2 separate regions of the Homo sapiens genome follow, and region 1 is linked to region 2. The links are contacts of gene promoters, found by promoter capture Hi-C in human tissues and cell types (Jung and others, 2019). All regions are on one chromosome and are shown on one strand. Each heading gives the region's core, a stretch centred on a gene start or on the middle of the fragment in contact. The rest is flanking DNA. Distances are from core to core; before and after follow the strand shown. Region 1 overlaps ZBP1 (Z-DNA binding protein 1). Region 2 holds the start of STX16-NPEPL1 (STX16-NPEPL1 readthrough (NMD candidate)).

The links. The method cuts DNA at HindIII sites, captures the fragments that hold promoters and counts their contacts. A contact is called where the count stands out against the background at its distance.
Region 1: a contact is called between a fragment that was not itself captured here and the fragment with the promoter of STX16-NPEPL1 in region 2, in 1 of the 25 tissues and cell types used here (dorsolateral prefrontal cortex).

The regions. Positions count from the first base shown.
Region 1 is chr20:57,605,146-57,611,144 of GRCh38, forward strand. ZBP1 (Z-DNA binding protein 1) reads right to left here. Exons shown (of 8, transcript NM_030776.3): 7 at 5,004-5,222. Among named protein-coding and RNA genes, the nearest start is that of ZBP1, 12 kb to the right of the region's middle. The HindIII fragment of the contact is 6,241 bases long and covers 1,175-5,999 here.
Region 2 is chr20:58,649,423-58,655,570 of GRCh38, forward strand. STX16-NPEPL1 (STX16-NPEPL1 readthrough (NMD candidate)) reads left to right here and starts at 1,831. Exons shown (of 23, transcript NR_037945.1): 1 at 1,831-2,716. STX16 (syntaxin 16) reads left to right here and starts at 1,861. Exons shown (of 9, transcript NM_001001433.3): 1 at 1,861-2,716. The coding sequence starts at 2,585. LOC107985410 (a long non-coding RNA gene) reads right to left here and starts at 213. Exons shown (of 3, transcript XR_005647058.2): 1 at 1-213. RefSeq lists a silencer at 764-1,123 and enhancers at 2,620-2,889, 2,727-3,230. The HindIII fragment of the contact is 3,892 bases long and covers 1-2,923 here.

The DNA of each region.
Region 1 (5,999 bases), core at 3,045-5,544, 1.0 Mb before region 2:
CATTCCAGGCCTTACACATCTCAGGATAAGGTCCCGCCCGCCACTCAAGGAGGAAGTGACAGGCAGACCTCATTTTATCTCACTTTACCTTATTGTACTTTGGTTTATTACACTTCATAGATATTGCACTCATTTTTCACAAGTTGAAGGTTTGTGGCACCCTGTGTGAAGCGAGTCTATCAGTGCCAATTTTTCCAGCAGCATATGCTCACTTCCTGTCTCTGCGTCACATTTTGGTAATCCTCACAATATTTCACACTTTTTCATTTTGATTATATGTGTTATGGTGATCTGTGACCAGTGATCTTTGATGTTGCTATTATAATTGCTTTGCTTTGGGGTGCCACAAATATCACCTGTAGAAGATGACGAAGTTAATTAATAAATCTGTGTGCTCTAACCTGTCACTGATCAGCCATCTCCTCCTCTCTCTCCCTCTCCTCAGGCCTCCCTATTCCTTGAAGACACAACAATATTGAAATTAGGAAAATTCATAACCCTACAATGGGCCGGGCGCCGTGGGTCACACCTAGAATCCCAACACTTTGGGAGGCTGAGGTGGGCAGATCACCTGAGGTTGGGAGTTCAAGACCAGCCTGACCTACATGGAGAAACCCCATCTCTACTAAAAATACAAAGTTAGCCAGGCGTGGTGGTGCAGGTCTGTAATCACAGCGACCCAGGAGGCTGAAGCAAAAGAATCCCTTGAACCTGGGAGGTGGAGGTTGCAGTGAGCCAAGATTGTGCCATTGCACTCCAGCCTAGACAACGAGAGCAAAACTCCATCTCAAAAATAAATAAATAAATAAATAAATAACCCCAAACGGCCTCTATGTGCTAAAGTGAAAGGAAGAGTTGCACGTCTCTCACTTTAAATCAAAAGTGAGAAATGATTAAGCTTGGTGAGGGAGGCATGTCCAAAGCTAAGACAAGTTGAAAGCTAGGTCAAAAGTTAGCCAAATTGTGAAGGCAAAGGAAAGGGTCTTGAAGGATATTAAAAGTCTTACTTCAGCAAACACATGAGTGATGAGAAAGTGAACCAGCCTTGTGGCTAGTGTGGAGAAAGTTTTAGTGGTCTGGATAGAGGATCGAGCCAGCTACAACAATCTCTTAAACCTAAGCCTCGTCTAGGGCAAGGCCCTTGCTCTATTCAATTCTAAAGGCTGAGAGAGGTGAGGAAGCTGCAGAAGAATAGTTGGAAGTGAGCAGAGGTTGGTTCATGAGGTTTAAGGAAAGAAACCGTCCCCATAACATGCAAGTGTGAGGTGAAGCAGCAAGTGCTGATGGAGAAGCTGCAGCAGGTTACCCGGAAGCTCTAGCTAAGATCATTGATGAGCGTGACTACACAACAGAGCAGGTTCTTAATGTAGATGAAACAGCCTTCTATTGAAAAAAGATGTCATCTAGAACTTTCATAACTCGAAAGGAGATGTCAATGCCTGGCTTCAAAGCTTCAAAGGGGACAGGCTCTCTTGTTGGAGATTAATGTAGCTGGTGACTTTCAGCTGAAGCCTCTCCTCAATTACCATTTTGGAAATTCTAGGGCCCTTAAGAATGATGCTAAATCGACTCTGCCTATGTTCTATGAATGAAGCAACAAAGCTAGATGAGAGCACCTGTATATAGCTTGGTTTACTGAATATTTTAAGCCTAGCATTGAGACTTACTGCTTAGAAAACAAAATATTCCTTTGAACATTTCACTGCTCATCGTCCATACCACAGGATCTGAGTGTTCCGCATCCTGGATTGAGGGCCAAAAAAAAATTTTTTTTTTACTACTCGTTGACAATGCACCTGTTCATCCACGGGCTCTGATGGAGATGTAAAAAAGAATTAACATTGTTTTCATGCCTGCTAGCACAGCATCCATTCTGCAGCCCATGGATTAAGGAGTAACTTCAACATTCACTTCTTATTCTTCAATAAATATATTTTATGAGGGCATAAGTGCAACACAGAGTGATTCCTCAGATGGATCTGGGCAAAGTAAGTTGAAAATCTTCTGGAAAAGATCACCAATCTACATGCCGTTAAGAACATTTGTGATTCATGGGAGGAGGTCAAACTATCAACATTCACAGGAGTCTGGAAGAAGTTGATTCCAAATTTCATGAATGACTTTGAGGGGTTCAAGACTTCAGTGAAGGCAGCAACTGCAAATGTGGTGGAAATAGCAGGAAAACACAAATTAGAAGTGGAATATGAAGATGGGACTGAATTGCTGCAATCTCATGAGAAAGCTTGAACAGATGAGTTGCTTCTTATGGATGAGCAAAGAAAGTGGTTTCTTGAGATGGCATCTATTCCTGGTGAAGATACTGCGAACATTCTTGAAATGACAACAAAGGATTTAGACTGCTATATAAACCTAGTTGGTAAAGCAGCAGCAGGGTTGGGGAGTCTTGGTTCCAATTTTGAAAGAAGTTCTAGTATGAGTAAAATGCCATCAAACAGCATTGCATGCTACAGAGAAAGCTTTCATGAAAGGAAGAGTTCATTGCTGCAGCGAACTTCATTGTTGCCTTATTTTAAGAAATTGCCACAGCTGCCTCCACCTTCAGCAACCACCACCCTGATCAGTCAGCAGCCATCAACATCAAGGCAAGACCTCCACCAGCATAGAGATGATGACTGGCAGAAGACAGGTGATGGTTAGCATTTTTAGCAATAAAGTATTTTAAAATTAAGGTATGTACATTGTTTTTTAGATATAACGTGATTCAGTGCACACCTAATAGACTAGAGCATCGTGTGAATATAACTTGTATATGCACTGGGAAATCAAAAATTTGCATGACTTGCTTTATTGGGGTGTTCTGGAACTCACCCATAATATCTCTGAGCTATGCCTATTGATGTCTCTTGGGGACAAAGAGAGGTGGGTGGGTCAGGGCAAGGGGCAAAGATGTCATCAGCTCTTCTGCTAGAACCTTAGGGAAGAATGTCAGGATGTTGCAGGGCAAATCTGGGAGTGTGACCATTTTTTTTTTTTGAGACAGAGTCTTGCTCTGTCGCCCAGGCTGGAGTGCAGTGGCATGATCTTGGCTCACTGCAAGCTCCGCCTCCCAGGTTTACGCCATTCTCCTGCCTCAGCCTCCTGAGTAGCTGGGACTACATGTGCCCGCCACCATGCCTGGCTAATTTTTTGTATTTTTTAGTAGAGAGAGGGTTTCACCGTGTTAGCCAGGATGGTCTCGATCTCCTGACCTCGTGATCCACCTGCCTCGGCCTCCCAAAGTGCTGGGATTACAGGCATGAGCCACTACACCCAGAAGTGTGGCTATTTTTAAAAAACACAGTGCTGTGTTCTTTCCGGAAAGAGAAGTCTTCAATGGTCTGGCTTGAGACCCACAGGGCTCTGCAGACAGCCTGTGCTGTGGGGTCCTAAGCCGGATCCCCATCTGGTGGCACATGCCCTCCCAAGGGTCCCCAGTGGCCTTGGAGGTCTCAGAGACTCCCTTTGCTGCTGGAAGGAAGTCCATGCTCCCAGATGCTCATGGCCTGAGTCCTGAGGAATGCGCTCCTGGTCCCCGTTCTGCAGGTGTCACATGTGCATGGGGCTCCCAGGGGTCCTGGAGGGAGAGTTTGAAGACACGTGGGGCCAGGGTCTCCTCAGTTGCTGGGACAGCAAGGACACGGCCCTTGGGGTGAGGAGACCCTCTGGACTTCCAGGACATGCATCCCCTGGGCCTTCAGGCACTGGAGGGTGGATGCCGGCCAGTCCTCCAGATTCCGTGAATCCATGTTTTCTACCCATTGGTGGGACTGGGTGTGATTCCTTATTCCAGATCCCAAAAGGGTAGGAGCGGAAATCCGCCTTCTAATTCTTTTTTCACATGGGAGGCAAAAATCTCATCCAGCCCCTCTCCTGCTCAAAGCCCCCCATGGCTTCCAATTGCCTTAGCATCGACTGCAGCCTGGAGCCAGGCCCTGGCTCTGCTCTCCATGCTCAGGTCACCCTCAAACCCCTGTGGGTTCCCACACTGTCATGTCCTCACCTCCAGGCCATTGTCCACACTGTTCCACCCACCAGGTACACCTGCCCTGGCCCTCCCCACCTTGCGTGGACCTGCCCAACTCTCCAGCTGCCCCCACCCGAGGCCCCGAGCTCCCTTCTGCAGAGTTGGAATCCTCAGGCTCTGCAACCAGCCTGTGCAGCTTCCAGGGACCAAACGGTGGCTGGGACGGTGAACCGCACTGGTTTCCCCTCTCCCCTCTTCCTGTTGGCAGTGGAGCCCCCTCCCCTGAGTCTCTGCTGGGCTTAGACTGCCTTGACACAGGCGGCACTTCCCAGACCCCCCGTGGCTAAGTGCAGGCCCTCAGAACAGCACAGATGCAGTGGGTGGGCTTGGTCAAAGACAACAGCGGCTCTCTGTACCCTCTCTCGCCCCTCTGCTTGCTGGTGCTAAGTTCAACCCCACAGATGAGGACGGAGCCCAAGGGACGACTCAGCACTGAGGTAAAAGAAACCCTGGTCTGCTACCCTCACCCGGACATGAGACTTGGGCTTCAAGCAGGCGGGGCCACCGTGTGTGGCATCTCCACTGCAGCAGGTCAGCCTGTGCCCTGATGCAGAACCTTATTTGCATGGCAACCCAGCACCTCTCTCGGGCCCAAAACAATCACCACAACAATGATGAGACAATAACACTCCTATCTCCTGAATGCTGGCAGGGCTGGTGTAGGGCTGAGCTTCGCCTTCAGATTTTACCCCAGTCTTGCAACCACTGTAGGAGTTGCTTCAGGCTATTCTTGCCATCCCACTTTACAGCTAAGGAGACAGAGGCTCCTGGGTGAAATGACTTGGGTGGGTCCCTCCACTAGGGGGACGGAGCCTCCACGCTGACTCTAGAGCTGCTGCTCCTCGCTGTGGGTGGGCACAGCCTCCAGACTCCGGGAAACCAGAGATTAGCGAATGATCGATGAGAGTGAATGAATGAATGAGTGGAAGGTGGGGAGAGAGAGAGAACACACAGGGGTCCACTCTGCCCCCTAGCTCACCTGCGTCCTCCCCTGGCTCCCCCTCTCCAGACCCTGCGACTCCTCCTGGGCCAGCCACCCCTGGGCTGATAGACATTTTGTTGCTGTTGCCGATGGTGGCGTCCTCGAGAAAGCACGATTTCATGTGGATTCTCTGGGCGGCTTCCCCCTCAGGGTGAGTTCCTGGACTGGGAATTCTTGCTTCAAACGAAGCTTCTGGGCCGGCAGCAGTGGCAGAGACTGTGGGTCAAAGGGAGAGAGGCCTGGAGCCAGGAGCAGCTGGACAGTGGCCGGGAACCCTGACCCCCAGCCTGGTTCACCCTCCTCCCCAGATCTCCCACCAGTGGCCCACACCATCCCAGGAGCACAGCCTGTGCCTGCCCGCCACACCTCCACCCGCCACACCTCCGCTCGTGCTGTTGTGCTGTCTGGGAAGCGTCTTTCTGCTCCACTGATCCCGCAGTGGGTCTGCCCCACTGATCCCGCCCGGCTGATCTGGACGTCAGTGTCTTCCTCTGGGATTCAGCTCCTCTCTCCTCTGCTGCCTGCTTCCCACTGCACTGGAACACTGGCCCCCACTTTTGGTTGAAATCTTATGGGGGCTCCCAGCCTGGCCCCAGCTCCTGCCATCTGGCTCTGCCCTTTCCCACCCAAACTTCTGAAGAATCATCCACACTGAGTCCCGCCCCCTCCACCCCCGAGACCTCTTCTGCTCCCTGGCCCCCAGAAACCACCCCCTCAAGGTTACCACGATCCCTCTCGCTGAACCCCACAGATGCTTCCCTGGTCTCACCAGCCTGGCCCCTCTCTGGAGACTCCTTTCCCGGGGCCTCTGCTTTCCTCCTCCCTCTCTGGCTTCTCTGCTGGTTCTTCTCCCCCAGCCCATCTCTGCATTCCCAGTGTGGGGGAGGCCTCTGCCTGGGGCCCTCTGGTCACTGCAGCCACAGCTCCTAGTACGGCACCTGTCTTCCATCCTCCCTAAACACCATTCCAGTCTCAAACCATCACCCTGCTCCA
Region 2 (6,148 bases), core at 581-3,080:
TGTCCCCTAAAGGGGGGAGCGGGGTTGGGGGGGCTTGGCCGTGCTGCTGGGGTCAGAGCTCGCAGGGGGGTTCTGCCGCAGTGTGGGGACAAACTCTCCCTTATTGGGCAAATATTTCCCGGGGCGCTACGCTAAGCACACGGGCTCCCCGAATTTCCCTCCCCAGGGCCTCTCTGTCTTTGGATGGCCTGTCAGCAAGTCCCTGCAGCCTCCAGCCCGGCCCGCGCGGCGACCCAGTCCCCTGTCGCCCGAATCTTCCACCGCTGCGAAGCGTCCCCGGGCGAGCGCCCTGCTCTCCGCGCTGCGCGGAAGCCAGAGCCGGTCCTCACAGTGAACTCGCCCAGCCCTGCTCGCGGCTCTCTCGATTTTATGTGGGTTTCGTTGGATGCATTTTGTTATTTGCCTCAATGGATGTTTCACATTAATTTTTAGTTGCACAACGAACGCGCGGGAACATTCTCCGTGAGAGAAAAAGCACGGGTGGGGGGCGGTTACCGGTGCTTCCCCCGGTCGCCTGGGGGTCCCGCACGCGCCCCGCGGGTGCCGCTGTCTGGCTGGGGTCCCTGGGTGAGCCGCGGGCACCGGCTTCGCGTCTCCCCGGGCGCGACTCCGCTTTGCAAGCGCTCAGCACACGGGAAACCCTCGGAAAACACACACGTGTGTAAAGTTTGTTCCACGCAGAAACAAAGGACGCGTGGGGGCCGCTTCTGGGGCCTCGGTCCTTTGTTGGAACCCCGCACCGCAGCCCGGCCCGCAGCCTCGCCCCGCAAGGGGAAGCCGGCCCTGCACAGGCCCGGGGCCCGGAAGGCGCCGCCGCACAGCTCTGCGCCCCCGACCCGCTCCGGCCGCGCGCTGGGCCAGGCCCTTGGCCTCAAGCCTCCCGGGCGGCTCCGGGCCGGACCCGGGTCTCCGTCGCGGGACGCCAGCCTGTTTGTGGGTGCCGTGCTCGGGCCCGGGCGGCCCCTGCCCGACGCGGCCCCACGGAGCCCCTGCACGAACCCCGCCGACCTGGCCCGGGGCGGCAAGTCGAGGTGCTTAGGGCGCCCTGGGCCCGGCCAACCGTGGAAAACCCGGCCCGGGGCACGGGGGGGCGCGGGGGTCGCAGGGCCAGGGCCCAGGCAGGGAACAGAGATTTTTTTCGCGGGGAGGGGGGTGGGAGGTGTCAAAGTTTTCGGGGAACTTTTCCACTTGAGATTCCACGACCCTGCAGTGCCCCCTACAGAAAGCGGCAGCTGGGGAGGGCGGGCGCCCCCGACGACCCCCGACTGCCAGCGGCGGCGCGGCCAGGCTGCCTGGAGTTCTTGTTCCTTTTTTTTTTTTTTTTTTCCTTTTATTTCCTCGTGGTTGTTTGTCGGATACATCTTTTTCCAGAGTGGGAAAAAAAAAAAAAAAAGCGAGCGCCGCCGCCTGCAGTAGAGCGTGCTCGGCCTGCAGAGGCAGTCGTCTCCAACTTTTCCTCTCCCGCTCCAACTCCCCGCGCCCAAAACTTCAGTTCTTGGGGAGCCCAAATTTGCCTGCCGCGCAACTTCCACTCTAATTCAGCGACCAAGGGCCCTGGCAGCGGTTTGCAGCCTGGGGGCCACGCTCCCCAGGCTCAGGCCTGCTCGTTGGCCTGCTCCTAGTGCCTGGACCCAGTTGGGGGAGGCGAAACAGGGCGCCCGAGGAGCACCCCGGGAGAGGGCGGAGCACTCCCGTGCCCCGGGGCAGGAGTGCAGGGAGCTCCCGCGCCCGGAACGTTGCGAGCAAGGCTTGCGAGCGTCGCAGGGGGGCACTCGCGAGGGACGGACAGGAAGAGGGCCAGGGGGGAACGCCAGAACCCGGGACCACAGCACGGAAACGGTCCGGGGCTGAGCTGCAGTCAGATCCGGGGATGGAGGGAGCCGGAGAAGAGGAGTGAGAAGGCCGGGGAGGCAGGCCCTGCTGTCTTCCTGCAGGCCGGCAGCCTGCTGGCAGTGGAGGACCAGGCCGTCCAGGAAAGGAAGGGGTCAGGAGGTCGGGCAGGGCCTCAGCAGGTTCAGACAAGTCCCCAGAAGGGAGCTGCAGGCGCCCTCGAGTCCAGGCCCCAAGCCTGGCTCCGGTTGTCCAAAGAGGGCCTAGGCCAGGCCTCTGGTGCGGAAACTGAGTCACAGCCAGACCTCAGGGCACGGCCTAGACGCTTACGAGCCAAAGTTAGGGGTAGAGAGCAGAGACCTCCGGGGGGTCTCAGGGAGTAGGGGGCTTCAGGGCCTCCCAGTCTAGAGCCGGATTGGCGAGTTAGACGCTTGTAGATCCAAGGTTGGATTGGGGTGGGGTCTCTGGGACGTTGGATCGCTACGCAAGGATTGGGGGGATTCAAGTGCTTAGAGATCGAAGTCTGCCCTGGGTAGGGGGAGTCAGACAATTGGAAAGCCTAGGTAGTTATTTGGGGAGGGGTCTCTACGCCTTGGCGAAGCGCACAGCTGCATCTTTTTGGCTTGAGGCCTGAGGCCTTGTCGAGAAGCTTCCGTGAAAGGGTGGGCCAGCCGGGCCACGAGAAAGAAAGTGAATAAATCAGGAATATAAGTGGGCGGGGGGCCCCTGAGAGGGGGGTCGCAAAGGGTGAGACATGGCCACCAGGCGTTTAACCGACGCTTTCTTGTTGTTGCGGAATAATTCCATCCAAAACCGGCAGCTGTTAGCCGAGCAAGTGAGTAGTCACATCACCTCCAGCCCTCTGCATTCACGTAGCATTGCTGCGGTGAGTCTCCTGGCGGCCTCTCCGACACACGGACCGTGTGCACTGCGGCTCTGCCTGTTTGTCTGTCTCTGTCTGTCTCTCTGTTTAAAAAGAGAAGATAAGAATAATAAGACTAAGAATAATAAGATCTCTTGGCTAGAGTCAGGGGGCATCTGTAGCCCTGGATGAGGAAGAAGCGGTGCTGTGAGGCCGCAGCTCCACCTCTGCCCGGTCTTCTCCTCACTTCCGCAGCACCCCCCCCCCCGCACCCCCCGCCTTGGCGTCACTGCGCTACAGGCCGCCTGTAATTTACATATGTTTTAACGCTAACATTGGGAAGCATTGGGCCTTTCTGAAGCCTTTTTGTTTCGTTTTGTTTGAAGCTCCCCTCCCCCCAGTAATGAGCCTCAGTTTGGTCCTAAGGGCTGGGTCGCCGGATCGTAGACCCAAATCCTTGCAAAATGAACGACTCCCTCCCCTCAAAGAGGAGGGAGTTGTGTTGTTGTTTTGTTTTGTTTTGTTTTTCCGCCCGTTTTCTTTTAACGGCCCCGCAGCCCTCTGTGTGGCCTTGTTCCCTGTGAATAATTGCCTCACTGTTCTTCCTGGGGGCTTGCGTTTGTGAGACTCAAGGTGCTAGCCTCTTCACTTTCCATTTCCCAGACAGGAAATTAAGCTTTCCTCTCCATTCGAACTTTTTAAAAAAAGCCTGAGGAGGTATATGTGAAAATTAACCCCGTAAAATAGCACTTTTTTTTTTTAATTAACCACAACCTTTAGTTAGCCTAGCAGTAGCGTTTTTTAAGGGTGGTCCTGGAAAAATTACTGTTTGGGGTTTGTTTTTAATGGGGGCTACTTTTCCCTTTCTGAGCCTCAGTTTACTGCTCTGTTAAATAAGGGGCGAGTCTGGATGATCTATACCAGACAGTGATCGTTAGCTCTGTAATGTCTTCAATTGAAAAGTGAAGTTATGAAACTGGCTGTAGTTCAGGCTACCTGCTGTAGGCAGACTAGGTTGGAATAGAAGCAGCGTTGGAACAGGCGGGAAATAGCCATCCCAGGACCACATTCTTGGGGGTTATACTTGATATTAGGCAATTTTGGAACATTCATTTCACCTCTTAGGGACTGTATTGCCAGTTTATTTTTTTCTTTATGGCTTTATCTAAATGCTTCAGGAAAATTTTGCCATATGTCATGATTATCATGTCTACAAAGACAGTTTCTCCTTTTTGTAAGTCACAGGTGGAGAATGTCTTTGGCCATATAACTGATAGAAAAGTCATTTTAAGCCGTGTGAGCGGTTTCAGGAATAAAAGCATGTAAACTCAGGTCAAACAGCCTAGAACTAGGGACAGAGTGTGTGTGAGATTTCAGTTAATTAAGAAGTTGAAGGGTTTTTTTTACATTTATAAACGGAAAGGAATTACATTATATTGAAATAAATGTAAAGATGTCTGGTAGCATAGAAACAGGCTAATTCTAGCGCTAATTTTGAAGAAGAAATAATCCAAGAAATCGAGTAGAAATTGGATGAATTCAATTCCTTAATGGAACTTCAGTAATGTTAAATAAGAACTGCATGTTCCTTAAATGACTTGATTTTGTGCTGCCTCAAAAACTACTGAAACTCATATTAAGATTTCTAAGGTATCAGTTTTAATTGAAAAACATATTGTTTATTTTTCAATTTTTAATCATTAAGGTTCAAAATACCCTGAACCTTTGGGTAACATGAGGGTTTTTTTTTTTTTCCCGATTAAGTCAGACAGTTTAAAAACCTAGTATCTGAGACGGGAAGCTTTTTAAAAGTGCATCTCTGAATCAGACCACTTTAGAAAATTATTTTCTAAGTTAGGCAATTTTAAAAAATATTTAAGCTAAGCAGAATAATTAAAAATGGATAGTTAACGTATACAGTTTGGAAAAATAGATATGTCAGGGTATATACAGATACATTTAGCTAACTCACAGTTTTTTGAAAATAGATTTCTAAACCCAACTAAAAATACATTTCTAAGAACGTTAAAAAATGTTTTCTAAATGTCATACCATTGAAAATGTTAATATTTATATTAGTCTGACCATTTAAAATCTTTCTCAGATCATTGAAAGCAGTCATATCATTTAAAATATCCTTATAGTCAATCCATACTATCTCAAAAATAGGTTTTGCAGTCTAACAAACATAGTTTGCCTGAATTCAAATTTAAAAATAAAACACAGATTTATATATTTTAATTGTGTTAAAAAATGGCATGTCATAAATTTCTGAAGTATTTAGGGTTGAAGTGTTACATCTTCACTTTGCTTACAGGTGATTCGTAACAAAATCTATTCTGCACACAGTACGGCGAAATGCTAACAAGACTAAATAGAGGTTATGATTTTTTCAACTTTTCTGGAAGTTGGAAAAGCTTTATAAACATTTTGAAGCAAAAGCCATGTTTAACACAATTTGTAAAATCTATTGAGTAACTCTTAGCAATGCTTTTCACTGCATATCTAGCTCACAAAAAATTTAAAGCCTTGTTTCTGACTTGTAAATTTCAAAGCCATGTAGCAAACCAAACAAAATCGTATCTGTCAAATTTTGAATATGGACTAGGTATTAGGTGACATTAAGGAATTAATTATAATACATTACATTTGCTAATTTTATTAGAGATGCCTACTGAAATGTTTAGTGGTGAAATGTCAAGGCATCTTACCTAAGTCCTTAAACCCCTCCAAAAATAGAGGAAGCAAATAAGGCAAATTGTTACTCATTGTTAAGTCTAGTGATGAGTATGTGTGCGACATTTTACCATTTTGTAGGCTTTTCTGCATGTTTGAAAATTTTTAAATAGAAACTTAAAGTAAGTATATTTGTTATAGTAAAGTAAAACAGTTAAAAAGAGGCAATTTGTAAATACATGTCTAACACTCAGGCAATTTGAAAGGAAGAAATTAAACCTAAGTTTAACTTAATTTAAAAAATAATAACCTGGAATTTTAAGTTTCCAATTAGAAGAAAAAGCTGTAGACTTTGATCTTGATGCATTTGATACCAACTAAAAATACACCTAAAATAACAGACTTTTTAAAAAAAAAATTGTAATCCTGAATTTTGACATCTTATTTCAGGAAAAAGCTGCAGAAATTAATTGCAGAGTAGTGTGTATCATACACCTCAAAGCAAAGCACACCTAAAGCCATGCCATTCAAAAAATTTAAACATGCATTTTTTGCATCCTAGTTTGAGGGAAAAAACTAGAATTTGGTTGTTGTAGTGGGGTTATTGTGTGTCCCTGTGCGTGCATACAGGGTTTTGCAGCATTCAGGCAAATATGTCAAATAAACAGGAATTTAAGGAGGATACGCAGTGACCAGATAAACACAAAGCCTCAAGGGCCAGAAGGAACCTAAAGGTCATTTGGCCTAATGTCCCCATTTGTGATAACCCCTCATGCCTAT